6 separate regions of the Homo sapiens genome follow, and all the other regions are linked to region 1. The links are contacts of gene promoters, found by promoter capture Hi-C in human tissues and cell types (Jung and others, 2019). All regions are on one chromosome and are shown on one strand. Each heading gives the region's core, a stretch centred on a gene start or on the middle of the fragment in contact. The rest is flanking DNA. Distances are from core to core; before and after follow the strand shown. Region 1 holds the start of GALNT1 (polypeptide N-acetylgalactosaminyltransferase 1). Region 2 holds the start of RPRD1A (regulation of nuclear pre-mRNA domain containing 1A). Region 3 overlaps RPRD1A (regulation of nuclear pre-mRNA domain containing 1A). Region 4 has its middle 55 kb from the start of ZNF397. Region 5 has its middle 2.4 kb from the start of MIR3929. Region 6 overlaps ZSCAN30 (zinc finger and SCAN domain containing 30).

What was found. The method cuts DNA at HindIII sites, captures the fragments that hold promoters and counts their contacts. A contact is called where the count stands out against the background at its distance.
Region 2: a contact is called between the fragment with the promoter of RPRD1A here and the fragment with the promoter of GALNT1 in region 1, in 2 of the 25 tissues and cell types used here (dorsolateral prefrontal cortex and spleen).
Region 3: a fragment that was not itself captured here is called in contact with the fragment with the promoter of GALNT1 in region 1 in 1 of the 25 tissues and cell types used here (H1 embryonic stem cells).
Region 4: a fragment that was not itself captured here is called in contact with the fragment with the promoter of GALNT1 in region 1 in 1 of the 25 tissues and cell types used here (lymphoblastoid cells).
Region 5: a contact is called between a fragment that was not itself captured here and the fragment with the promoter of GALNT1 in region 1, in 1 of the 25 tissues and cell types used here (lymphoblastoid cells).
Region 6: a fragment that was not itself captured here is called in contact with the fragment with the promoter of GALNT1 in region 1 in 2 of the 25 tissues and cell types used here (dorsolateral prefrontal cortex and lymphoblastoid cells).

The regions. Positions count from the first base shown.
Region 1 is chr18:35,579,886-35,584,330 of GRCh38, forward strand. It overlaps GALNT1 (polypeptide N-acetylgalactosaminyltransferase 1), which reads left to right and starts at 1,855. Exons shown (of 12, transcript NM_020474.4): 1 at 1,855-1,977. RefSeq lists a silencer at 897-1,596. The HindIII fragment of the contact is 13,517 bases long and covers 1-4,445 here.
Region 2 is chr18:36,065,192-36,069,636 of GRCh38, forward strand. RPRD1A (regulation of nuclear pre-mRNA domain containing 1A) reads right to left here and starts at 2,368. Exons shown (of 7, transcript NM_018170.5): 1 at 2,063-2,368. The coding sequence starts at 2,213. RefSeq lists enhancers at 2,068-2,207, 2,091-2,606, 2,318-2,547. The HindIII fragment of the contact is 14,008 bases long and covers 1-4,445 here.
Region 3 is chr18:36,024,559-36,029,003 of GRCh38, forward strand. RPRD1A (regulation of nuclear pre-mRNA domain containing 1A) reads right to left here. Exons shown (of 7, transcript NM_018170.5): 5 at 2,626-2,752; 6 at 2,342-2,517. Among named protein-coding and RNA genes, the nearest start is that of RPRD1A, 41 kb to the right of the region's middle. RefSeq lists a silencer at 488-782. The HindIII fragment of the contact is 4,412 bases long and covers 51-4,445 here.
Region 4 is chr18:35,184,018-35,188,462 of GRCh38, forward strand. No RefSeq gene overlaps it. Among named protein-coding and RNA genes, the nearest start is that of ZNF397, 55 kb to the right of the region's middle. The HindIII fragment of the contact is 5,625 bases long and covers 1-4,445 here.
Region 5 is chr18:35,934,352-35,938,796 of GRCh38, forward strand. No RefSeq gene overlaps it. Among named protein-coding and RNA genes, the nearest start is that of MIR3929, 2.4 kb to the left of the region's middle. The HindIII fragment of the contact is 7,355 bases long and covers 1-4,445 here.
Region 6 is chr18:35,275,777-35,280,221 of GRCh38, forward strand. All of the region lies in intron 1 of ZSCAN30 (zinc finger and SCAN domain containing 30), which reads right to left. Among named protein-coding and RNA genes, the nearest start is that of ZSCAN30, 12 kb to the right of the region's middle. The HindIII fragment of the contact is 6,261 bases long and covers 1-4,445 here.

The sequences.
Region 1 (4,445 bases), core at 605-3,104:
CTATCATGAATAACACTGTTATTAATATTCATGTACAAGTTACTGTATGAATTTATCTTCAGTTCTCTCAGGCATACGCCTAGGAGTGGAATTGTTGGGTGATAGAATACTTCATGTGTAACTTTTTAAAAAACCTGGAAAACTGTTTTCCAAAGTGGCTGCACCATTTTACATTTCCATAGGCAACGTATGAGGGTTCTAATTTCTCCATCTCTTCACCAACACTGCTATTGTCTGTCTGTCTTTTGTACTACAGCCAGTGTAGTGGGTGTCAAGAACTTCCTTGTTGTGCTTCTAATTTGCATTTCCCTATTAACTAATGATGTTGAACACCTTTTTATGTAATTGTTGATCATTTAAATATCTTTGGTAAAACGTCTATTCAATTGTTTTGCCCATTTAAAATTGGACTATTAGTCTTATTACTGAGTTGTAAGAGTTCTTCATACATTCTGGCTACAAGTCCTTTAACAGATATATGATTTGCCAATCTTTTCTCCCAAGATAAGAGTATTTTTTAACGATGACAACTTTATTCCAAAGTGAAGTTTCCTTGTGGAACAGTAACAGGCTAGTCATGATTGACTTTGTTTCAAAATATTATATAAGTACTTTTAAAATAGTAACTTTTAACTTTTATTTTAGAATACTTGGAAGATGTAGACAAGCAAAAACAGGATACTAAAATTCCAGAGATAATCTTCAGGTTTTTTTTTTTTTTTTTCGGACAGCCTTTTGGTTATGTGAGAGGTAATATAAATTTAAAAGTGGGACCACTTAAATATTAAGTAATCTCTTATTGCAGCTCTTGGTTGGCAAGCAATAAGACACAAACCTCTGAATTATTTAAGTAGAAAATTAATTTATTAAAAGAATGGTTGGTTATGCCTCGCGTGAGTGACAGAGCCAGGGTTTTGTCTTCTATCTTCAGGGCAGGGTACAGCTGGGTATTGGAATTGTACCAAGCAGTGTTTCCCAAGGGGGCACAGAGGGAGGGCCCCTCTCCGGGCACTGTGCGGGAGCCACTTCCCCAAACAGTCCCCGTTCTGCAAGGGCCCCGGCGTTGCTGCCCCCGAGACCCGGGTGCCTGCCCCGGCGGTGCGGGTCGCGGGCCTCCGCTCTCGCCGTCCTCCCTCAGTCCCGGGCCTCCTGCATCGCGGTCGCCAGGCGCAGGCTCAGCGCGGCTGACAGCGCTCCAGCTCCCGCGCTCGCGGCCGCCTCAGGCAGCCGACCGGGTTGGGGCGGCCCCGCGCTCGGCCCGGGAGCCGATCCGCTGTGAGGGCTCCTCCATCTCCTCCCACCCCGTGACCTGCTCGACGCGCAACAGCCCGAGTTGTCTTTAACTTGCTGCGGCAGCCTCTTTGTCCCGACCCAGGGTCGGGGGCACCTCTCGGCCTGGCCCGGCCCTGCCCGTAGCCGTGTGAGCGGGGGCCGGGACTGGGCGGTCGGTCCGGGAGGGGCGCCGCGCCCGACCCCGGAGTCCCGAGCCCGAGGGGAGCGTCGCGGCCCCGCGGTGGGCTCGCCGCAGCGGAGGGGGCGCGCATCCGGGTGAGCGCCGGCGCCCCCGCCTCCCCCGCGCAGCCGCACGGGCCGCCGCCGCCGCTGCCGCCGAGCACGCAGCGCAGGGAGGACCGCGCCCGAGCGCCTGCGGGCGCCCTGCGGCGCCCGCCGCGCGACGAGCCCCAAGTGAGCGGGCAGGCGGCGCGCATGCGGGGCGGCCCGGAGTAGCGCCGCCCGAGCCCGCGAGCGGGGCGCCCGGAGTAGCCGCCGACCCGAGCCGGGCGCGGAGGCGGGGGCGGGCGCGGCGGAGCGGGGCCCGGCCGGACCCGCCCGCCCGCCGGGGGAGCCGCCGGCAGTGGCCGAGGAGCGCGCGGCGGACGGCGGCCCGAGAGTAGCGCGCTGGCCGCGGGACCGGCCGCGACCGCCGCGGCCGGCCCGGAGGACGCCTGCCGCCGCCGCCGCCGCGCGCCTAGCGAGGTGAGTGTATCGCCCGCGGCTGGGCAGTCCCGGAGCCGCAGCGCTGCGCGCGGGTCGGAGGTGGAGAAAGAGGCCCCGCCGCGGCCGCGTCCCCGGTCCCTTTGTGGCCGGCGCTGCCTGGGGCCGGGGCGCGGGCACGCTCGGCGCGGGTTCGGGTCTGGGACCCCGGTGCCGTTGGACACGCGGCGTCTCTGGTTGGCAGCTTTGGCGAGCAGCGAGTTTCCGTCCTAGTTTGACATTGAGTTAGAACCGTTTTTCTTTAGAAGACGGAAGTTTGTTTTATTGACAAAAATAAAGCTAAATATGGCTTCTGGGTTCGGCCGTGTGGTACTTGCAACCGCGGTGCCAGCCTGACCCTCGCGGCGCCACGGGGGAGGGGAAGACACGCCGGCAGCGGGGGAGGGGGCTTCCCGGCCCGCTGCCCCCGAGGAGGACCCGGACCTAAATTAGCAAATGTTTGTGGTTGGGAAGTAGCGGGCTTTAGGTAATGTAGTAGCTTTTCCGCTTTTCCTGGAAGAATGAATGAATGAGATGTCATTTACTCATCCATAATCAATACGTTGCCCATTTAAGCATTTACCAGGAATTGGGATGATTTGCATTGTCATTGCTTCTCTTATCTGGTCAGCCTTGCTAGATGAGGTTCCCTTACTCCCCAGATTTGTGACCTTGTCCTCATTCTCAAAGCCACTGAGCTAACCAACCCGTCTACCAAACTCACTTGGCATTTTTTTGGTCAAGTGGGCAATAGGCAAAGTAGTCTTTCTGAACTGTTTCTGGAGGGCAGAGAATGTCACTTTGATCATATCTTATGTTTAATACATTGCTTTATAATCGTGTCAAGAACGCTGAGAGTTAGGAGGTCTTGTCATTTCACAGATGAAATAGTGAAGGCCCTAAGAAGTTGCAACTTTTCAGGTCACAATCTGAGCAGCAGAGTTGGGATTCAAACCTAGACCTTGTTAGTCCAGTCCTCTTTACATCACATCTGTGTCCAGACCTGGACTGTCCAGCGTGGGAGCCACTAACCACATGTGACTATTAAAATTAAATTTTAAAAATTCAGCTCCTCGGTCACAGTAGCCACATTTCAAGTGTTCCATAGCTAAATGTGGTTCTTTGCTACAGTTGAACAGCCCTGGTCTAAATTATACATACATTTGTTGTGTCAGTAAATATTTACTGAATGCGATCTGTCTATGAGGCACAGTTTTAAGTTCTGGGTACATGGTGAATAAGGGAGACACAATGTCCTTGCCCTATTGGAATTGACATTTTACATGATCCTTTGAGGATGTTTCCATGGTACTCCGAGTCCTGCTATTCCAAGTGTGGATGGTGTACCAGCAGCATCCCTGTCACCTCAGACTCAAGTAATGCAGAATGTGAAGCCCCGCTGCACATCAACTGAATCAGTATCTGCTTTACCAGGATTTCAAGTTATTTGTGTGCACTTTGAAACCTGAGAAGCCTTTGTTCAGCGTGCTGGTGATAACTGCGTTTAATGACTGCTCTGCTGGTTTGTTTGGTGCCTCTTAAGCAGCAGACTGCAAAACTCTTGGGAGCACTCACCATTTATGCAAATACTTGTTAAATGCCTGGCTTTCTCAATAGAGTTTAAGCTTTATGAGAGCAGAGATTGTGGCTTCCTTTTCCAGCCATGTATCACTGAAGACTTTACAGTGCCTGGTAAGCAATAAGCACTTGGTATAAATGCTTGTTGGATAAACGAATGAGTGTGCTAGGATACTTAAGCGTGGTTGTTAGCTGGGTGTGGTGGCATGCGTCTGTAGTCCTAGCTATTCCAGAGTGACAGCGCGAGACCCTGTCTCAAAAAACTGAAAACCCAACAACAACAAAACTGATTGTTAATCCCAAGCAGTTACAGGCAAGGTAATTCTCATGACATCAGGTGAGAGAGCATGGGACCAGAGTCAAAATGAAGATAGATCTGTTTGTAACTTTCAGTGGGACGCTCCAGCTACTCTGACTGGAGTTTTGCTCCTGGCTCACTTGCATGCCCTATCCCTCTTTTAACTAATATAATAATAATTTTGAATCTGAATCACACATTAGTGCTTCATATAGTTTTTAAAAAATTTTGTATTTTTTTAGGTAGCTAAATTCCAGACATTATTTGGATTTCACCAGTTTTTCCGTTAATATCTTCTTTCTGTTCCAGAATCCAGTCCAGTGTACTACATTGTATTTTGACATCATGTTTCTTTAATATTTGGTTTGTGATAGTTTCTGTCTTGTCTGGTTTTCCATAACTTTGGTAGTTTTGAGGAATACTGTCCTGGCTTTCTTTGATGGACAGCTTTCCATACTCATTCTCATGAAAGGTCACAATCAGGTTGACGCTGTTTCTGCTTTTACTTATTTATTTATGTAATACATCTGTCATGCTTATGTAACATACAACTTTGGTACTTTTTTTTCAGTAACAGATTTCTTGGATACAGTTC
Region 2 (4,445 bases), core at 1,118-3,617, 490 kb after region 1:
CTTGGAATATGGTGTTAATCACTACTATGCATATTTTAATATAGGTATCTATAAACAAAAGAAGTACTGTTTTGCATGTTTTTAGACTTTACCCCCATAGCATTATTCGTCTGTACCTTGTTTTCTTAGCTCAAGATTTTGTTTGTTTTTCAATTCAGTCACGTTGTTTCATGCAGCTCTAGTCCATTCGTGAGAACTTTTCGATAGTATTACATTTTATTAATATCACAATTTATTTGTCCATTCTCAAACTAATGGAATGGTTTTTTTGTTTTCTTATTTTTTGTAAAGAAAAGGTTTCACTATGTTGCACAGGCAGGGTCTCACTTGTTTTCAATTTTGTTATTATGAAGCTGCAATAAACAATTCTTGAGAACAATACTTATTTCTAGAATATATTCCTAGAAAGAAAACTGCTAGGTCAAAGGATATATTTAATATATACCTCCAACTTCATCAACTAAGTTGATCTACAAAATAGTTACATATTTTTACATTCCCACCAAGTGGTATAAGAGTTCCTGTTTCTCTGCAACAATTATCCATATTGTCATATTATTTTGCCAAATTGATGAACATAAAGTGGTACCTCACTGGCTTACTTTTTCCTGATTTGTAAGATTAAGTATCATTTATTGACCTTTCAGGTTTCCTCACGTGAAATGCCTATAAACAGTACTGCCATTTTTTTTTTTTACTGATTTGTAATAGTTATTAAGAGAGTCTGGGTATCAACCCTATACTGATTACATGTGTTTCTAAATGCTCTCTGCAAAAACAAAAAACAAGATAAACCTGTTACCGATTCTGAAATCTAGTAAAATGTAAAAGCAAAGCTAATTCCTGACTTTTCAAAGTTCACAGCTACTTTCCAGACCTTTATATCAGTGTTTCTGAAACCTTTCCGTCCACTCACAGAAGATGAATTCCTCATTCAGGGCCAATACACACATACTTACACATAAACTGAAAAACAAGGCTGTAAATCAATTTCTTCTCAAGGATGGGTGACGTTTTCATAACCACAAACAATATACAAGGACAGATTGTCTCCATTATATACAGCCAACATTTTGGCTCACATTTTGGCTGTTACGTACATACATCATATAGCTTTCACAAGGTTCAGTAAGCAAGCGTCTATTTTGATTAATAACGGTTAAAACCTTTAACACTTGATAAAAAACCATCATATCCATCAGGATGTTTGCAACAATAATGAAGAGTGTCCACTCTACCCAATGAATTAAGAATTAAAGTACAAGCTCAGACTAAGCAAATGAAATTTTTTATTTTCAGTCGCACTAGGATAATTTTTTACAAAGTTGCTCTGCATACATGAACTGATTCTGAATATTTTAGTGACAGACATCTCAAAAAAGTTTACTTCATTTACAGGAACACTATCAAATGTTTTGCAAAACAAAGACACTGCATTAGGGCATATAATCATAGAATAGGAAAGGACTTTAGGTGACTTACTCTAAATCTCTCCTTTTCAGGTAAGGCATCTGCAACGCAGAAGTTATAAGAAACTTGCCCAATTGAGACCCTCTAAAATCTACAAATTCAGAGTCTTTTCCACTGCATTACCCATCTTCTTATATTAGACTTCTAAAACTATTCCTCTATTAATTTCACAAGAATAAGTTGCTGCGTTACAGAAATGACGGAAGTAACTCCCAAACCCACACCAATCTTTTTCTTTCCACTCCCCTACCTTCTCCCTCCCTTATCCTCCATTATCATTCACAGAATGAAAAAAATACCTGACCACCTGAATTTCTGGCCCTAATTGGGTGTGGAGTCCCAACCCCCTGCTACTGTTTCCGTGTTAAGCTAACCGGAGTTTTCTTTTTTAATTATTCATTCCTTTATTCAATAAATATCTAAGCCCAGACTTTGCAGAAGCGTGGTGCACGCAGCTCCTCCAAGCCCGCAGACCACCGCGCGCTGGCATCCCGACGCCGGGAAGCCGGGGGCGCTGGAGAAACGGGGTTCCCGGGGGCGCCTGGAGGCCGGCCGGGTGGTGGGAAGCGGCCGACATAAGCGGTTGACTCACCTTTCCGCAGCTCCCGCTCCCACACGGTGACGATGGGACGCGAGTGTTTACGGTGGTGAATGAGCCACAGGGACAAGGTCTGCACGCTCTGCTGCGAGTTGCTCAACTCCGACAGCTTCTTCTCCAGCGCCGCCTCAGAGAAGGCTGACATCCCTCCGACACCACGTTCACGCCGTCCCACGCGGTGGGGCCGAGGGGAGGAGAGTTTCGCCGCCCTAGCTGCGGCCTCGCCCCCTCACCCCACCCTTCCCCACGCTCTCACCACGGCCGCCGCTTCATCCAAGACCGGCCGCAAACCAGCAAGATGGCGTCCGGCCGGCAGTGACGTCACAGGGACCCACGCCCCGCCCCTCCCGCTGCAAGCCCTGGGAAAACGCGCGGCCGAGAAGTGGAACCGCCAGGCGGAAGGGGCGGAGTCGAAACAAGTGCAGGGGAGGCGGACAGGGGCGTGATGCCTGGGTTACTCTCAGAGGCATGGTGGGAGTTTGCCAGGCCTGAACCCTCCTTAATGGAAACTCTGTCAAAGAAGCAGTGATTACAGATCTCTACATAGGCATGTAAACTGGTATAAATTGGGGCAGGCACTTTAAAGACTATTTGCATGACCAATTACGGTTAAAAATACACCTTCCTAAATAGAGTATAGGATGGTGACCAGAGGCTGGGAAGGGTAGTGGGGGAGGGCTAAATAGAAGGACTAATAGAAGGACTAAATATAAATAGGACCTAGTATTTGATAGCATGACAGGGGACTAGAGTCAGTAATAATTTAATTGTACATTTTAAAATAACTAAAAGGATAATTGGATTGTTTGTAACACAAAGGATAAATGCTTAAAGGGATGGATACCCAACTTTGCATAATGCGATTATTAGGCATTGCCATGCCTGTACCAAAATATCTTATGTACTCCATAAATATATACACCTACTATGTACCCACAAAAATGAAAAATGAATAAAAATTTAAAAATTATAAGAATACTCTTTCCTAGCAATTTCACTAATTGCTGTCAGTGCTGGAAAAAACACCAGCATGTTTGCACCAGGAAGCTTATTCTAGGTGTTCAGTCCAACACAGTAACAGTGAAAAATTGGAACATTCACTGTTGCAGTCTACACAGATACGTCTATATTCCATAATACATGCAGCAGTTTAAAATATGGATTAATCCAAGATATGGTGGATTTGGAAGGGTTTGAGTGGGTTTTTATGAGGTTCTTTTTGAGAGAGGGCCTCACTCTCACCCAGACTGGAGTTCAGTGCCATGATCACAGCTTACTGCAACCTCGAATTCCTGGGCTCAAGCATTCCTCCCACCTTGGCCTCCCAAAATGCTGGGATTACAGGTGTGAGCCACCATGCCCAGCTGGATTTTTTTTTAATTACAGAAGCAAAAGTATAGTATACCACTTCTTGTTTAAAGGTATGTAGTTCATATGGGTTCACAAGTACGTAAACTCATGGCAAAGGTTTGGAGGAATACACACCACATGAATACTGGTCTCAGGGAGAGGATCAGAATTGGAGCCCTTAAATTGTGTCCATATTGTTTTCATTTTTACAAAAAGAATACGTGAATATATTACTTATATAGTTAAAAATTAATTACAGAAATCTCATTGTTAATCTAATGCATACACCATCATATTCTAAAATTTTTTTTGAGACCGGGTCTTACTCTGTTGCCCAGGCTGGAGTATGTGGTTCAGTCATGTTCACTGCAGTCTCGACCTCTGGGCTCAAGCAATCCTCCTCTGTGTCGGCCTCCCAAAGTGCTGGGAATACAGTTGTAAGCCACCATGCCTGGCCCTAAATATTAATACAAGAAACTTCCAGAAAGATACATAAGAAACCATAGGAATTCCTAAACTATCTTTTGACAAGCATCGTTCAAGAACTTTGCGGCCAGATGTGTGGCTCATGTCTATAATCCCAGCACTCTGGGAGGCCGAGGTGGGAGGATTGCTTGAGCCCAGGAGTTAGACACCAACCTGGGTAACATAGTGAGTCCCTGTCTTTACTAAAAATTTAAAAATTAGCTGGGCATGGTGGTATGCGCCTATGGTCCCAGGAAGCTGAGGTAGGAGGATCACCTGAACCTGAGAGGCAGAGGTTGCCGTGAGTCATGATTGTGCCACTGCACTCCAGCCTGAGCAACAGAGCAAGACCCTGTCTCAAAAAATGAAAAGGAAGGGCAGGGCACGGTGGCTCAAGCCTGTAATCCCAGCACTTTGGGAGGCCGAGGTGGGTAGATCACCAGGTCAGGAGTTCGAGACCAGCCTGGCCAACATGGTGAAATCCCATCTCTACAAAAAGTACAAAAATTAGCTGGGCATGGTGGTGGGCACCTATAATCCCATCTACTCGGGAGGCTGAGGC
Region 3 (4,445 bases), core at 1,007-3,506, 450 kb after region 1:
TTACACATGCTTTAATAATGGCTTCCTTAAGAAATATGAAATGGCCAATTCCCGAACTGATACTTTAAATTTATGTTCCATTATCAAAAATGCAGCAACAAATGACACATCAGTATCTGGTCAACCACTGTTAATGTTCAAAGATACACAATAGATGAAAATTACTTGATAGTATCACAGCTGATTCAGAAAACATAAATCTTCACCTCTCAGTCTCAACTTCAAAGTGATGCCACCTACTTGGTACAAAAAAGTCTAAATATCTCAAATCATTTCCACATCTTCTACAAAGGAATAACATAGTTCTAAGTGATAATTTACAAAGAGTTCTGTGGAATAACTTTCAAGTTTATTTCTGTACTTGTAAAGAGTATTTACTTGTTAAAAAACAGCTGAACATAATTGAGGTGATTTCTTCTTTATAATATAAAATCCAGTTATGCAGAAGAACAACAAAAAAAGTTCCTAGAAGGCTTTATTTCAAGACAGTGATTACCTCTGAGAAGAGAGGGAGCAGAAAAAGTTGGAAAAAATAGGACTTTAGCATTTGCTTTAATCTTAGATTTAAGTAAAAACAGGAAGCAATGTGTCTTTTTGATGAAGTGCACTGGCTCTGGAGGCAGATTCTCTGCGTTCCAAACAACTCACTAGCTCTTTGTGACCTTAGGCAAGTTACTTAATCTTCCTGTGCCTCAGTTCTGTATCTATCAAATGTGGATAATACATCCTGCTGTGTAAGATTAAATGAGTTGCTTATGTGAAGTGCCTAGAATAGTACCTGACACATGAATGTTAACATTATTATTATCATCAGCCTCATAATCTATGACTGTCAACTATGAAATGTGGCTGGAAGGCACTGGGGGAAAAGGGGGTTGTGGGGAGTGGCATCTGATCTATTTTCTACAGTTACACTTCAAATATAAATTCTGTTTTTGTAAACAGTGACAAATGACCATCATCATAAGTGAGAAAGTATAAAGCAGAATAAAGTTACAGTCTTCTCTTCAATTTTCAAAAACATGAGACAATACAGGCTTCAGGGTTTGATATTTATTTTTAGCAGGAAGAATATACTAATGGTGACGACATCGTTAGAAGATACGCCCATGTCCAATATCTGCAACAGAAGCTCAATAGAAGTTAAAGAAACCATACTAAAAGACTAAAGACAAAAATTGTATGACATTACTTACCCTTAATTCTGTGGACAATAAAACAATTAACACTATGTTTAAAATTGAGGTTTCATCACAAGGTGAAATAGTGGCAAGTTAATTATCAAATTCATCTTTTAAAAAAAAAAACCATCTTTTCCTTTCCATGTAGAAGTGGGCAACCTCTTCAAAGGTATAGTGGCCACCAACTATCATCATCTGAGGGTATTTATACGAGCAGAGAAGGAGTAAATTGCAAAGGAGTAGTGCTAACTTGAGAGCTGGGAATTTGAGGTGGGAATAATTAAGTAGCAGCTCCCATGGGTAGCAATGGCAATCTAATCTAAGCACCATTTTTGGCACAATTAGAGACTGCTGAATCAATAACTAAACACTAATAAAAATAACTTAATGGGGTAGTACCATGACATTCCTACAAATTTACAGTGAGCTTTCTGTAAATAAAGGGATTCAAATTAGAAATTCTCCTACATATTATTACAATAAGAAATTGCCACAGCAATACAATTTAAACAAGAACTCATCAACTGAAAGATTTTTTTTACATAAAACCAAATCTGGCTCATGTATCCCTAACAATTGCTACTCTAATCAAAGGAAATACGAGCATTTTTTAAAATCACCTCCTGTACTCCCAGATTTCTCATTAGCGGTATTAATTATTACTTAATTTACAGGAGCAATGAATTTCTGCCTAAGAGTGTGAGCCGGGAGTGGGGCTGGAACATGTAAGCATTAGAATTGGCGGGTGGAATTAAGGGAGTAATTTAAAGACTTAATGGTATACCTAAAAGACTACATCTTCTCAAAACAGAAACTAAATAAATCCTACTACAAGTGACTGCCACCTGCTATTTTCCTATTATTTCTGTGATACATTAGGGTTAAACTGGTAAGATAAATTATAGTTGCATGGAATTTCACAAGAATAATTTTTAAATGCAATCAATTTTGCTAATTCCAAATTTCTAAGTTTACTTGCAAGATTAATTTGGTTCAAGTAGAAGAAAAACCATTAATACAAGGAGAAGCTTACCTGGGCTACTGCTTAAAAAGGTCTATGTTAAAAAATGCAAAATGTGCACATAGATTAAAATATTTTAAAATTCCTAACAAAAAGAGAATTAAATAAATAAGCACTAAAGAAGAAAAAGGTTACGCACTTCCAATTTATGCTCTTTCTCTGCAAGGGCTTCCTTTTGACAACGAAGAAAATCTGCTAACATTCGAGTGAGTTGCTTTCTATCATCTATTTCTGCCGCCAATCTGCCATTGTAATCTGCCAGCAACATACACGCATCCTCTACCATTTTGGAAAGCCTTTCTCCAGATTCTTTATCTAAGAAAAGCACGGGATAATAAAATATTATACAACAAAAACAATGACATATGCTGTTCTCTCATCCCAACTCCCAAAAAAGTTCTGGATCACATTTTCTTTTCTTACCTGTTATTTTATCTAATAGAGATACTTCTTGGACTTCAACAGGTAAAGAAGCTATCCTCTGATGAACTGCTGCATCACCTGAGGCTGCATTTTCCAGATCTTGTAATGCTCTAACGAGATCTAGAGTCTAAAAAGTACACAACTTCAGAACCAAAATAAATTGAGCTTAAACAAGTGCAAAAGACTTTAATTTCATATTCTTTCATCCCTATGGGCTATTTACTAGTACAAAGCTCCTAATATAAACTGCTTTTGAAGACAATCAATTTCTTTCATATGTTAAGAAAAAAGGAGGCTATACTATGTTAGGTGTTGAAAATATAAACAGGACAAGGCCCTAGACCTTGAAGAGAGCTTACTCCAGTGGTGGAGACAGAGTAATAATAATTATTTGAGTACTAAAATGAGGTAATGAGGATTTATATGGCAAATACATCAGTGGTGAAAGAGAAGGTAGGCTATAACATCAACCTAGAGAATACAAGTTTTATGTATGATATATTCATTACATTATCATTGTACACTAGAAGTTTTTTTAGTATTAAATTGGATATTATGGAAAGAGGGTTACAAATCATCTACTACAACACAGAAGAGTCTCCCAGATTTCATTTCTAAATGCTGTAATTAAAGCCCAAGAGAAATGTAGTTCTAGAATATGTTCAAATATGATATCTTCAAGTATCCTATGGCTTGTTAATAAGATTAAAATATTTCAAAATTCCATAATCTGATGACTAATATATATTGCTTAACCAGTACTGAAATTATTTTATCATTAAAATATTTTACTTCCACTGTTTTCATACAAGCTATAATTAGGAGGGAAGCGCAACTCTTTGCTGGTGATTTCACAACTCATAATGTCTATAAAGTTATTCCAAAGAAAAACAATTAAATTTTATTTTTACTAGTTTCCATTCTCCAGCCCATCTTTTTCATCTTTCTTTCTTAATTTCTAATACTAGATTCAGAAACACTAGGAAATTACACATATGCTTTAAAAAATATAGGATATTAGTAATTCTGTGTATATATTAAGATTTTTAAACTATTCCCTTGAAAAAAAGGGTAGCACATGACAAATGATCAAATGTGGTAGGAATGAATGAAACTAATAAGAAATATACTATCCTACGTGTGCTCACTCATTAGAAGTGTTTAAAATTTCAGTATTTTAAAAAATAATTTTGTTGTAAGATATATCCCCTCTACAATTAAGGTGTGCTTAAGAGTAACAACAATTACCAGAAAGCTTGTTTCTCATCTTGCCACAACTAATATATTATTTTTAAAATCATTCTTAGAAAATTCTAATTGTCTGGAGTTCTAAGAAGAAATCTGGCTTTATTGTCTTGGCAATGCATTGATGCTTTAATTACAACCTGATCTCATCACACCTTCACAGTCCTACATGAGTACATTCTAAGTTCCCAATGCCTGATCAAGCATCAGATAAGAAAGCAAAGTTGTCTGAAACAATACTAAGCCTACTACTTCCTACCAGAGGAGAATGAAATGAGTTTAACGGGAACCTACAAAGAGATTTTAGCCATTCTTATAAAGAATAACACACACACAAAAATGAAGACCACAAAGCTGAACCATTGATAATTAAGCAGCACAACTAATCTAAAAAACGATCATTATAAAACAAAGAGCAACAGCATTTTACACAAGTACTAGAGGAGAGGCAGATGATTACTTAAAAATACTCCTAAGATATGCAACTGTGGTTACCCTTTCATCAGGGAGAGCGGAAGGAGACCAGATCCTTTATCTAGAACTTAGGTAAAACACTGTTCATAGAATCATGAGGC
Region 4 (4,445 bases), core at 1,268-3,767, 400 kb before region 1:
TTTTGGAACAAAATCAATTCACAGTTTGGAGATTGCTTGTGTCACTACGATAGATTTCCATTAAAAACAAACAAAAAACTGAAGTTGGGAAATATCTCCATGCTGTTCTGGAGTTGATTTTCCACAACATTGGTGCTCTGACACTGGATGAGATTCAATTTTTAGTTAACCAAACCACCACCATTTCTAAGGACAAAGTGGATTTCCCCTTTGGCACATGATTGTGTGTTTGTGCATGTGTGTGTGTGTGCGCGCATTGCAGGGGCAGGGGAGGGGACTGACATAGGATTTTATTTAAAATGTGACATTATATGAAATTATGTTATAAAAAGTGTACTGAATTTTTAGAAAAAGAAATCTGCAATAGCCAAACACAGTTTTATTGCTAATCTTTATATTTTTCCTTATATTATTCTGACATTACTCTTTAAAGTGAAAAATGAAAGTGGGTAATACATCCCTTAAAAATTATAATAAAGGCAATGGGATTATTACTGCTCTCTGGAATTAAAAATTAATATAAAATTAAAATACTTCCTTCCTCAATTGCCATCCTCCTAGCAGGGAAGATGTGGACTTACATTAACCCAAGGGTCCTGAGTGCAGCAGAGAATCTCTGGGCTGACTGCCCCTATTACAGTGATGAACAGATAAGAATGTGCTGATGGATGGAATCCCAAAACATAGAAAAGTAAGTCTTTAATTTGGCTGGCCAGATTGATCAAAATTTCAGTGGGGTTATTTTCTTACTACAAGAGAGATTCTAACGGTTGTAGTAACCGTTTGAGGGTATGAAGGAGAGTGGAGAGATCCTAGGATATTGTTGTCATAGAAGCTTAGGGATATAGAACAAAATCTTATCCTTGCTAAGCTCTGAATGGGGGACAACCCATATGGAGGAAGAACCAACAGACCCAGAAACCTGATTTTAAAATCCCACGTAGAGTGGCTCCCATCCAATTTCAGAACCCAGTTCAAGTGCAGCCTCCATTCTACCAATGGGCCCTGTCTAACTCAAGGAGATCTGGCAAGAAAACAAAACAAAAAAACACTTTTGTTCCTCCTCCAGAATCAAGAATCCAAGGAGCAATGAAAATGTCACAAAGGCAATATAAAGAAACCTCACTATTGTGACACTGGAAAATAATTCATTTACCCAACTGTCGATCCATTCCCTTCGACGTCCTAAAGATCCCATGCTCTTCCTGCTCCCCCCATCCATCATAAACCTTCATGGCACAGGCAAAGTCTCCCTGAATATTCATGGCAGAAAGCCATTCCATCGTGACCCAATTGATCACAGCTGCTGAGTGGCAGAGGCACCAAATGTATCATCAAAAAAGGAAAGTTTATGGACGTACAGAGGGAAATAATAGACACTGGGGACTCCAAAGTGGGGCATGGGGTAGGAAGGGGGAAAGGGTTAAAAAAGTTACCAATTGGGTACAGTGTTCACTATTTGGGTAATGGGTACACTAGGAGCCCACACCTCCCCATTATACCATATACCCATGTAACAAACCTGCACATGTAACCCTTGAATCTACAAAAATTTTTAAATTTTAAAAAATAAAGGAAAGGTTGTAAACACTGTTTCCAATGATCTCATAGCTGTTCCGTTACCTAAATCGATTGTGAAGATGGCAAAATTTAAGTGGTAATTTTTAATTATTCTAGAAACAGAAAAACATTCTCCACAGAACACTATTGGAAATAATTAAATCAATGCCCCACAGACAAAAAAAAATTATAATATTCTTTTTCTAGTGTATTAGTTTTATTTCTCTACGCTGGATTTCATTCCAGAAAGGACTTGTGGTAATCAGAATGCCTTACAATCATGTGTTAAAGGCTCTGTTCTTAAAATGCCACTGAGTTTGTTCTTCAGGGTGAAACTACTTTGTTCTTGGCATTTCTTATGGGAACTGAAGTCAGGCCAAAGTGTTGCCAAACCAGAGCTGAGAATCTCTGGGCTGACTGCTCCTCCTACAGTGATGAGCAGGTAAGAAGGTACTGATAAATGGAATCTCAAAACATAGAAAAGTGAGTCCCTAATTTGGCTGGCCACATTGACCAAATTTCAGCGGGGACACTTTCATATTATAAGAAGAGAGAATCAAACTAAAAGAAACACAGAAAAGGCCTGTTGTTTATAATGGAAAAATTGAGTGTATATAATAAGTAGCTAAAATGCAATGTTCATGGGTTCATCTTACATGTTCCAAAATTAATGTTTTGGTGGATGGTTTTTAGGATAAAAATAACCACAACCTAAGAAATCACAGTTATGAGGACATGTTACTCTAAGACATTTTTCTCATGTATTTTCTTTCTATTGCGGATTAAGCTGTATACACTGTTGAGAAGTTAATGCTTTCCCATTCAACAAAATTTTATGTTCTACTCATTTTGTGGCTTATGATGAGATGCACAGATGTTTTTTCCAAAGTCATGTTTAAAACATCATATTTCTAAACAAAAATAAAATGAACTATCCATGGTTAGGTTCCAGAAATAGACCGCCACACAGTTTTTCAGAAACAGTGCCAAGAATCCTGGCAGCTAATGTATAAAAGTCATTGTCCTTTCCCCAACCATGGTGGTATTCTGTGTCTCATGTACTTTCCAGAAATTATTACCATCCAGTAGATATTAACATTGTCACCCTCTAACAGTATAACGTATTCATGGAAATGAAAAATCAGAAACAAAAAAGGTGAGTAATATCATTTTGTCAATTGTCAGACCTCTAATAGGAATCAAATTAGGGCTTCCAAGATTTAGCTGACTGGGCACAATGCTAGGCAAAGCGACAGCACTAGATGCTACTTCCCCTCTGCAGGAGGTCAAAACGGCCCCTCAGGGGAATCTTTGTCTTAGTCAATAGATCCTTCTGAGATTAAGACCAAAGCAGGCATGTGTTAAAAATATGATCGCTGGAGGATTTGATGAGCTGATTACAACAAAGATGACACTGAAGTGGCTAGCATGTATTGATCATTGCTATGAGTGAAGCATCATACCAAAGGCTTTCTATAAATTAGCTCGTTTAATCCTTACAACAACCCCTTGGGATAGGATTATCAATGCCATTTTACATATGGGGAAATAAGCTTGTAATGACTAACTTGCCCAAAGGTACATGGCTAAGAATTAGTAAAGCTGTGATTCAAATTCAGTTGGGTCTGTATGCCAACTTCTTCATTTGCCAGATTCACTCTCCACCTAACTTCAGTGCCAGGTGGTCAACCTCTACAAACTGCATCCATGGGTGTCAGTGTCCTTCCTTCTGGATTCCAGTTGATTCATCCAATGGGGGCCAATCAGGAGATCAGAGGCTGAGGTGCTTATTCCCTGGGGTCCCCTGCTGTGGAGTCACCTCAAGCTGTCTATGTCCCTCAACTGAAGATCACTGTGCTTCCCAAGGTGGTACTCTCTACAAGACTCTCTCCCTCAGCTTCCAGGAACCAGTTTCTCCACTCCTTCACCCCTTCAAGCCAGAGGCAGTAACAGCTATACTGTTGCTAGCTCTGAGGTTCTGCACCATCCAATGTGATTTCACTTTATCCTTGTATATAGTCTCTGAATTAAATCTCTCATAAATTAAAATAATTTGAATGTATCTGTTGATTCCTGCTGGGGCCCTAATTAATAGAGTCTGATTCCAAAAATCATGCTCTCAACCACAAGGTTAAACTCCCCACTAAGTTATTTGAGAGTCTTAGGTGTTCGTGCTCTAGGATAAAATTACCTGGACTCCAGTATTACCTTATGTATAGCCTTGAACACTGTGAGGTCCCTTGAATTAGAGTCGTTGTTAAATCATTTCCTTACACCTTACTTGTATTACTTTATTCCTTTCTAAATCATATTACATTTTATATTATGGATGGAATTATCAATTTAAATATTAATACTTATAAAATTGATAATTTCTGATGAAATTTGATCTTTCAGAAAAAAATGGCATGTTTTTCCTTTCTAGGTCTCAGTTGTCTAGGACTTGGCTTTCTTTCTTTTTTGAGAATCTAAGCAGTAAAATAAAGACTACTGTGAATATTCGTGTTCAAATTCTTTAGAATATTGAATGGCAAAGTAGCTTCTGCTGTCTCTTCCTCTTTCTTTTAAGGATAGTGGCCATATTGGATTAGAGCCTCATCCTTATGACCTCATTTAAACCTAACTACCTCTTTAAAGGCCTTACCTTCAAATACAGTCACATTCTAAAGTACACAGAATTTAATCCACAATAGACACATTATAGATATTGTTGTTATAACAGCTTTTTATTGTTATAACAATGCTGCAATGAACAGTCTTGTAAATGTATCTTTGTACATGTGTCAGTAAATCCATATAACAAACTCCTAGAAATAGAACTGCTGAGTCAAAGAAATACATTTACATATATACTGCCAAATTGCCCCAAATTTGAACCTCCATCA
Region 5 (4,445 bases), core at 631-3,130, 350 kb after region 1:
ACCCTTATTTTAGTTCGTAATGGCCCCAGTGTGCAAGAATAGTGGTGCTGGCATATCATTATAATTGTCTGTTTTATTATAATTTGCTGTAATCTCTTCCTGTGCCTAATTTATAAATTAAACTTTATAATAATATAATATTATATATAATATAATATAATTTATAAATTAAACTTTATAATAATACATATAGGAAAACAACACAGTATATATACAGTTCTTTAGTATCCATGGTTTCAGGTATCCACTGGGGGGTCTTGGAATATGTCCCCAGCAGATAAGCAGGGTATACTATATAGAACTGTCAGGAGAAAAATATTTGAAACCTGAGAATAGGCAAAGATTTCATAGGTCACAATTATAATGATATGCCAGCATCACTTGTCCATGACAAGGTGCTTTACAGAGGCCATTGTCTCCTTTTAGCTAGGCAGTGAAAAGCACATTACAAGTAAAGAAAACAGCAGTTTTCTTAGACTGTTTACTTTGCAATAAAGGAATACCTGAAACTGGGTAATTTATAAAGAACAGGGGTTTATTTGGCTCATGCTTCTGCAGCCTATACAGGAAGCATAGGGCCTCAGAAGCTTCCAATCATGGCAGCAGGTGAAGGGGAGCCAGTATATCACGTAGTGAGAGAGGGAGCAAGAGAGAGAAGGAAGTCTCAGGCTCTTTTAAATAACCAGATCTTGGGCGAATTGGTAGAGCAAGAACTCCCTCATTACTGCAAGGATGGCACCAGGCCACTCAAGAGGGATCCACCCCTGTGATGCAAACACCTCCCACTAGGCCCACCTCCAACATTGGGGTTGCCATTCCAACGTGAGATTTGTAGGGCACAAGTATCCAAACTATATCAATGTCCTCTGAGTGTGTGTGTGTGCACGCGTGAACTCATGGGGTTTCTTATTCTCATAAATTCTGGCAGTCCTCTATTAATTACTTACTTCAGACACAAATTATAACCAGATATGGGACAATATAGTTACTAGGGAAAAAAGTTTACTTTCTAAAAAGAATTGGCATATTCTTTGGTTAATTAAGAGGAGAAAGTATCCAGAACCCTTTTCCAGTTCTCTTTGCAGAAGCGTATAATTGCTTTAAGGGTCTTTCTGGCGAAAAGTGATTAGAGGATACATTCCGCCAAGCACCAGGCTGCTCCCTCGGCATGTCCCCCACTTCTGCTGATGCACTAACGTGTCTCAAATCAGTTGCCAATTGGCAGGTGAATCCTATAAAACTGCAAACCTCTGGTGGAGAAACATTATATAAAAGGAATGTAATTGCAGGAAGCTTTCCACCTGCCCCATTCTAGAGGCATCGCAAAGCAGATTTTGTCTAAAGGCTTACCAGAAAGTGAGAGGGCTCCAAAAGGACTTAGAAGGCCCATCAAGCACAACCTGGCATTGTTCATCCCTAATAATTATATGTGCAGAGTTTTATAGTAGCTCTTCTCCTAGTGGTTCTTTTCATCAGCCTTGTCAATGGAGTGAGAATAAACCTCCCTTCCTGTCTGCCACCCCACCCCACCCCCACTGTGAAGCACCTGGGTTTTGTGTGGGGTTGACTCCCCCGTGCATCCCAGCATCAGCCCGGGCCTGACCAGTCTAGCCCAATCAGGGCATCCCCCACTCCCCTTGCTGTGGTATTTTGTTCAGGGATGAACTCCTGCAGAGAGAGTATGTCTTCATCAGAGACAACTGGCAGGCCTGCCCTGCCGAGGAAAGCCAGCCTGAAGACAAAGCCCACACAGGGCAAGAGAAACTAAGAGAAGTTAAGACAGAACCAGAACCCTGATCAAACCACACCTGGAGCCCACCAAGCATTTGTGTCGCAAAAACTTAGTGAATCCCATCTAATGTTCAAACCTGTGCATTGGATTAGGTTTTTAGTACCCTGCACCCAAAACCTCCTCACTAAAATACTACATATCCTCTGAAATATTAAACAAAAGAGAATGGAAACTACCAACTACTCATGTAATGAGTTTTAGAAATCCTGGCCTTGAAAGATGTTGTGTTCAGGAACGACTATATAACCAACATAGGTTGTATATTTTCATGGGGCAATGACACCTCTAATAATTCACGCATCATTTTCTACTCACGCACTGCTTACTTCTATAAGGATTTCACATGGCTTACAACAAAATACCTATATATTAGGATAATAAAATAAGAGTTAATTATCCAGGGGAAAAGATGGATATATCAGAAAACATCAGTGAAGTATAACTCTTAGGTTGGAACATACAATTTAGCTCCGAGCATTCTGTCAGCCAAGGTTAAAATTATTACAGGTTGAGTATCCCTACTCTGGAAAGCTGAAATCTGAAATGCTCTAAAATCCAAAACTTTTTAAGTACCAACATGATGCTCAAAAGAGACGCTCATTGGAGCATTTCCAATTTTAGATTTTTTGACTTAGGGATGCTGAACAACTAAATGTAATGCAAATATTCCAAAATCTGAAAAATATTGAAATCTGCAACACTTCTGGTTTCAAGCATTTCAGATAAGGGATACTCAACTCAACCTGTATCTTACTATCTGAAAAAGAAAAATATCTATGTTTGCTGGGAGGTATGACGCTTTTTCCTAGCAGTAGTAAGTAAGCTCTAGAGCAGCTGTAGTCAGTTTGGGAAGTTTAGGCCCTTGAATGCTGACATTAGCTGAACCACTTTAGCTTATCTGTATTTAGAGCATCACCAAAAGTGTTGACATTAATCTATGTACTGGCAGTGTTAGAATGTTATCAGATTCTGGCAGAGAAATGTTTACATCAGCACTTGCAAGAAAGTAGGGCGGGGTGCAGTGAGTTTTTCAAGGAAGTACAATGTGATCCCAGCCCCACAGGGTTGTTGTCAGCAGCAGCAGGAGGGCACACTGAGGGCTTGAACTCTGCAGCCCCTCTGTACCCTGAGGACAAACAGGGTAGGGAGGTGGAGAAGCAGAGAGATGAAAAAGGAGGAGGGAAACCATGTGGGGGAGTCCTCAGAAGGGCAGCTAAGCTGCAAAACCCTAAAGTATGCAACTGGAAAGGGAAGGGGTACTTCATTGAGCATGTGCTGGCACAGAAGAGAAATACAGAAACACCGAGAAGTCTTGCCCACCTTAAAAGATAAAAGGGAGATTTGCACACAGTTTAAACAAGGAGAGCATTGTTGGATAACCATAGCTAATCTTTACTGATCACAACACTCCATAAGGTAAGCACTATTATTACCCCTGTTACACTGACAAGAAAAGTAATGTTTATGTGCCCAAAATCTCATGGCTAATCAGTGATGGAGCTAGGGACCTGATCCCAGGTAGTCCAGCTCCAAAGCCAGCTGCTCACTTCTGGTGACTATGACCATCCCATCTACCCTGCTCTGACTGGAGCTGCAACTGTGGGAGACAGTTTCATGTGAGCTGTGACAGCATCCCCAACCCCAGCTTGTGCTGTCTCACATAATCCCACTCTATGCAGCCCAGAAGTGCAAGATAGTGAACTGCCCCAGGTAGCCTTCAACCAATTGGCAATGGAAGCAAATGGAGAAATGCTCTAGGCTCCTGGCCTACAGCAGATGGTTCTGAGAGGCCTTCTGTGTGCTAACTCCAGGCCTGACAGAATCGAGCTCCACCAACTTTAGAGGTAACCTCTGCTTCCTCTCTACCCCATGCTCCCTTCTTTGGGAATCACATCCCAAATAAACTAGCTGAGACATCCTTGTCTCAGGCTCTGCAAGAAAGGAAACTTAAAGCAAGAGAAGGCATCTGCATTATAGGACATCAGAGATCAGAAAGGATCTCATCAAATTCTCAGCAGGTTCATATTTGATTGTTAAAGTCATTGACCACTGTCCTGCTCTGGAGAAAGAAGTTGCAGAGGAGGAAGAGGTTTTCAGGGAAATATTGGCTCAGGGCTCAGCCAAAGGCAAAAGATTTCAATGAACAAATATGTCTGACTGAGCTACATATTTTCTAAACAATGACTTGTCTATTTCAAAGTGAGTCATGACAAGAATCACTGGACCATGGAGTTCTTGGATAATGTGTGGTGTTCTCAGATAAATGTATTTCTTTCTCTCGGGTATTTATATAAAGCTGATAAAATGGGTTTGTTTACTGTTGCTTGCCAGTTTCCCTGTAAGTGGTGCACATGCCCTTGATTTTAAGCTGGAAAAAAGGGACACATTGATTCTTAGGGAATATTCTAATGCTATAGGTATCCACTAAAAAATTAAAAAACAAAAACAGAACCTTTGGTGCCTAGGGAAAAATCTAATCTTTTCCAGGCTCTCCAAGGTGTCACATTTTTACCAGCTCTTTGCAAAGTATAAGTCAATGCATGGCTGAGAAAGAGACTTTCATGATTGCATTATATTTATGCAAATGTATCTAATGGTTATTACAGACCTAGGGGTTTGCCTGAGGACAGCAAATGACTCAACTGCTGCATAT
Region 6 (4,445 bases), core at 653-3,152, 300 kb before region 1:
TATTTCTTATTTTCTTTTATTCATAACTGACTTATTGAAGTTGGTCTGTAATGACATTCTCCATTTCCAGATATCCCATTTTTTTCTCATACTGGTTCTCTTCAACGTTTGTTTTTTATGAAGAGGTGTTGGATTTTGTCAAATGCTTTTTCTGCATATTTTGTCCTTTATTCTGTTGATATGGATTTGGTTGATTTTTAAACTGATGCTCAGATGGATTCCTGGGATAAATTCCACTTGGTCGTAGTAGAAAATCCTTTTTTATATGTTACTGAATTCAGTTTACTAGTATTTTGTTGAGAATAAGACATACTGGTCTGTAGTTTATGTTTCTTGTGATGTATTTGACTGATTTGGATATCAAAGTAATATTAGCCTCATGAAATGAGATGGAAGATATTCCTTCTTCTTGTTTTGGGGAGGGGAAGAGTTTGTGAAGAACTGGTATTAATTCTTCTTTAAATGTTTGGTAGAATTCACCAGTGAAGCCCTTGGGGCCTGGGCTTTTCTTTGTGTGCCTTTTTTTTTTTTAAATTACTAACTCAATCTCTTTATTATACATCTATTCACATTTTCTATTTCTTCTTTAGTCAGTTTTCTGTCTGCAGGGCATGTCAGAGACCTTCACAGCAGCCCCTCCCATCACAGGGCTTGGGGCTTAGGAGGAAAAAATGGTTTTGTGGGTGGGGCCTAGGGCTCCCCTGCTGTGTGCAGCCTAGGGACTTGTTGCCCTGCATCCTAGCCGCTCCAGCCATGGCTGAAAGGGGCCAACGTAAAGCTCGGGCTGTGGGTTTAGAGAGTGCAAGCCCCAAGCCTTGGCAGCTTCCACATGGTGTTGAGCCTGTGGACACACAGAAGTTAAGAATTGAGGTTTGGGAACCTCTGCCTAGATTTCAGAGGATATATGAAATGCCTGGCTGTCAAAGCAAAAGTTTGCTGCAGGGGCAGAGTCCTCATGGAGAATCTCTGCTAGAGCAGTATGGAAGGGAAATGTGGGGATGGAGTCCCCACACAGAGTCCCCAACAGGGAACTGCCTAGTGGAGCTGTGAGAAGAGGACCTCTGTCCTCCAGACCCCAGAATGTTAGATCCACTGAAAGCTTGCACCATGCACCTGGAAAAGCCACAGACACTCAATGCCAGCCTGTGAAAGCAGCCAGGAGGGGTGCTGTACCCTGCAAAGCCACAGGGGCAGAGCTGCCCAAGGCTATGCAAGCCCACCTCTTACATCAGTGTGCCCTGGATGTGAGACATGAAGTCAAAGGAGATCATTTCAGAGCTTTAAGATTTGACTGCTCCAATGGATTTCAGACTTGCATGGGGCCTGTACCCCCTTTGTTTTGGCCAATTTCTCCCATTTGGAATAGGTGTATTTACCCAGTGCCTGTATCCCCATCATATCCAGGAAGTAACTAACTTACTTTTGATTTTACAGGCTCATAGGCAGAAGGGATTTGCCTTGTCTCAGACTTTGGATTTGGACTTTTGGGTTAATGCTGGAATGAGCTAAGACTTTGGGGGACTGTTGGAAAGGCATGATCATGTTTTGAAATGTGAGGACATGAGATTTGGGAGGGGCCAGGGGCAAAATGATATGATTTGGCTGCGTCCCCACCCAAATCTCATCTTGAATTGTAGGTCCCATAATCCCCATGTGTCATGAGAGGGACCCAGTGGGAGGTAATTGAATCATGGGGACAGCTACCTCCATGCTGTTCTTATGACAGTGAGTTCTCATGAGATTTGATGGTTTTATAAGGGGCTTTTCCCCTTTTGCTTGGCACTTCTTCTTACCACCATGTGAAGAAGGATATGTTTGCTTCCCCTTCTGCCATGATTGTAAGTTTCCCGAAGCCTCCCCAGTCATGCTGAACTGTGAGCCAATTAAACATCTTTCCTTTATATATTACCCAGTCTCAGGTATGTCTTTATTGGCAGCATGAGAACAGACTAATACAGTAGGCTATACCATCTAGGTTTGTGGATGTATACTCTATGATGTTCACACAAAGACAAAAGCACCTGATGATGCATTTATCAGAATGTATCCCTAGCATCAAGCAAAAGATGACTGTACTTCCTTCCTTCTGCTGTTCTGTTGCTGTTGTTTTTAAGTTTGCTCTCATTTTTAGTTTCTTAAGGTGGAAGCTTAGGTTTAGATAATTTTTTTTCTAAAATAGACATATTAAAGCTATAATATTTCCTCTAACCATTACTTTTGCAGCATCCCATAAAATATTTTATGTTGTACTTCACTTTTATTCAGTTTAAAGAATTTTCTAATTTCTCTTATGATTTCTTCTTTGGATCATGGTTATTTATATTATGTTATTTAATTTCCAAATATTTGTGGAGTTCTCAAATTATGCTGACTCAATATGCCCTCTGGGTCAGTGGAATCCTCACTGTCCCCAACCTCTTGGTCTATAGATACCCAACTGGTCCTATCTTCTAGACTCTAAGAGGCTTCACTGGTCCCTGAGCCACCCTCAGCTGAGGTGGCCCTGCCATCTCTGCCCTTGGTAGTGTCCCCACCCTCTGGGTACCTCGTTTCCTGCTTTTGTAATACCAGAAGTTGGACAGCTTTTCTTCTTTTCATCCTGTCTCTGTCCTCTTCAAAATTAGCAGTGTTTCTGGTGATAGCATTGTCAAAATCCTTGTCAGTTTTCCATAGATTTTAAGAGAATCCATACAATTAGGCACAAGGATTCTCTATGGATCCTTCCTGGATAACCCAATTTCTATCCTGGATTCTGCTGAAATAGTTAATTGGATCCATAAATCACACACCTAATCGCTTCACCAAAACGTTTGTCCCAGTGCTGTCTCCAGAGCATGCTATCTGAGATAGGCTGAGAAATTTCCAAATCATCAAATGATTTTTGCTTAACAGTTTCCTCCTCAGTGTATCTCTTTCCTCTCATATTTTACCATAAGAAGGAAGGAAAAAACAAGCTACACCTTCTACTCCTTGCTTGGAAATATCCTCAGCTAAATACTCAGGTTCATTAGTTACAAGTTCTACTTTCCACCCAATAGCACAGCATGATTCAGCCAAGTTTCTGCCACTTCTAACAAGGATTGCTTGTTCTCTAGTTTCTAATACATGTTCCTCCTTTCATCTGAGATCTCACCAGAAGTATCTTTAATGTTCATTATTTCTAGCAGCATTCTCTTCATAGCAATGTATGTATTCCCTAAAATGTAACTTTCTCTACTGTCCTCTTTACTTCCTTCTGAGCCCTTACCAGAATCACCTTTAATCCTCCTATTTCTACAGTCTCTTCAAGGCTTTTTCTATTAAGAATTTCAAAACTCTTCCAGCTCAATCACTTACTCAATTCCAAAGCCACATCTATATTTTTAGATATTTGTACATAGCACCCCACTTCTGGTACCACAAACAAGATGGCATAATAGAAATGTATTCTCTCATAGTCTGGAGGTTAGAAGTACAAGATCAAGGTGCCAGCAGGGCCATACTCTCTCTGAAAGCTCTAGGGAAGTGTCTGTTCCATCCCACTGTCTTAGCTTCAGGTTGCTGGCAATCATTTGCATTCTTTGCCTTTTGGATGCATTACTCCAATCTCTGCCTCCATCATCACATGCATTCTCCTCTGTCTCCTCTGTGTCTGAATTTGCCTATCTCATAAGAACACCAGGCATTGGATTAAGGCCCACTCTAATCCTTTATGACCTTAACTTGATTATATCTGCAAGGGCCCTGTCTTAGGCCATTCAGGCTGCTATAACAAAAAATAGCATAGCCTGGGTAGCTTATAAACAACAGAAATTTATTTCTCATAGTACTGGAGGCTGGAAAGTACAAGATCAAGGCACTGAAAGATTTGGTGTCTGGAGAGGGTCTGCTTCCTGGTTCATAGAAGCCATCTTCTCACTGTGTCCTCATACGGCAGAAAGCCTTGGAGCACTCCAAGTCCTATTTTATAAAGACACTTAATCCCACTCATAAAGGCTCTGCCCTTATAACCTAATTACCTCCCATAGGCCCATGTCCAAATACTATCACATGAGGAGTTACAATTTAATATATGAATTTTGGGGGGACATAACATTCAGCCTACACAGACCCTATTTTCAAGTAAAGTTACATTCACAGGTAATGGAGGTTAGGGCTTGAACCTATCTTTTGGGGGGATACAATTCAATCCACAACAATGTGATTAACATAAACCAAGATTTATTTAAACCACTGTGGGCCAGAAGCAGTGGCTCATGCCTGTAATCCCAGCAGTTTGGGAGACTGAGGTGGGTAGACTGATTGAGCCCAGGAGTTCAAGACCAGCCTGGGCAACATAGTAAACCCTGACTCTACAAAAAAATAGAAAAATTAGCCAGTCATGGTGGCATGCGCCTATATTCCCAGCCACTTAGAAGGTTGAGGTGGGAGGATCACTTAAGCCCAGGAGGTTGAGGCTGCAGTGA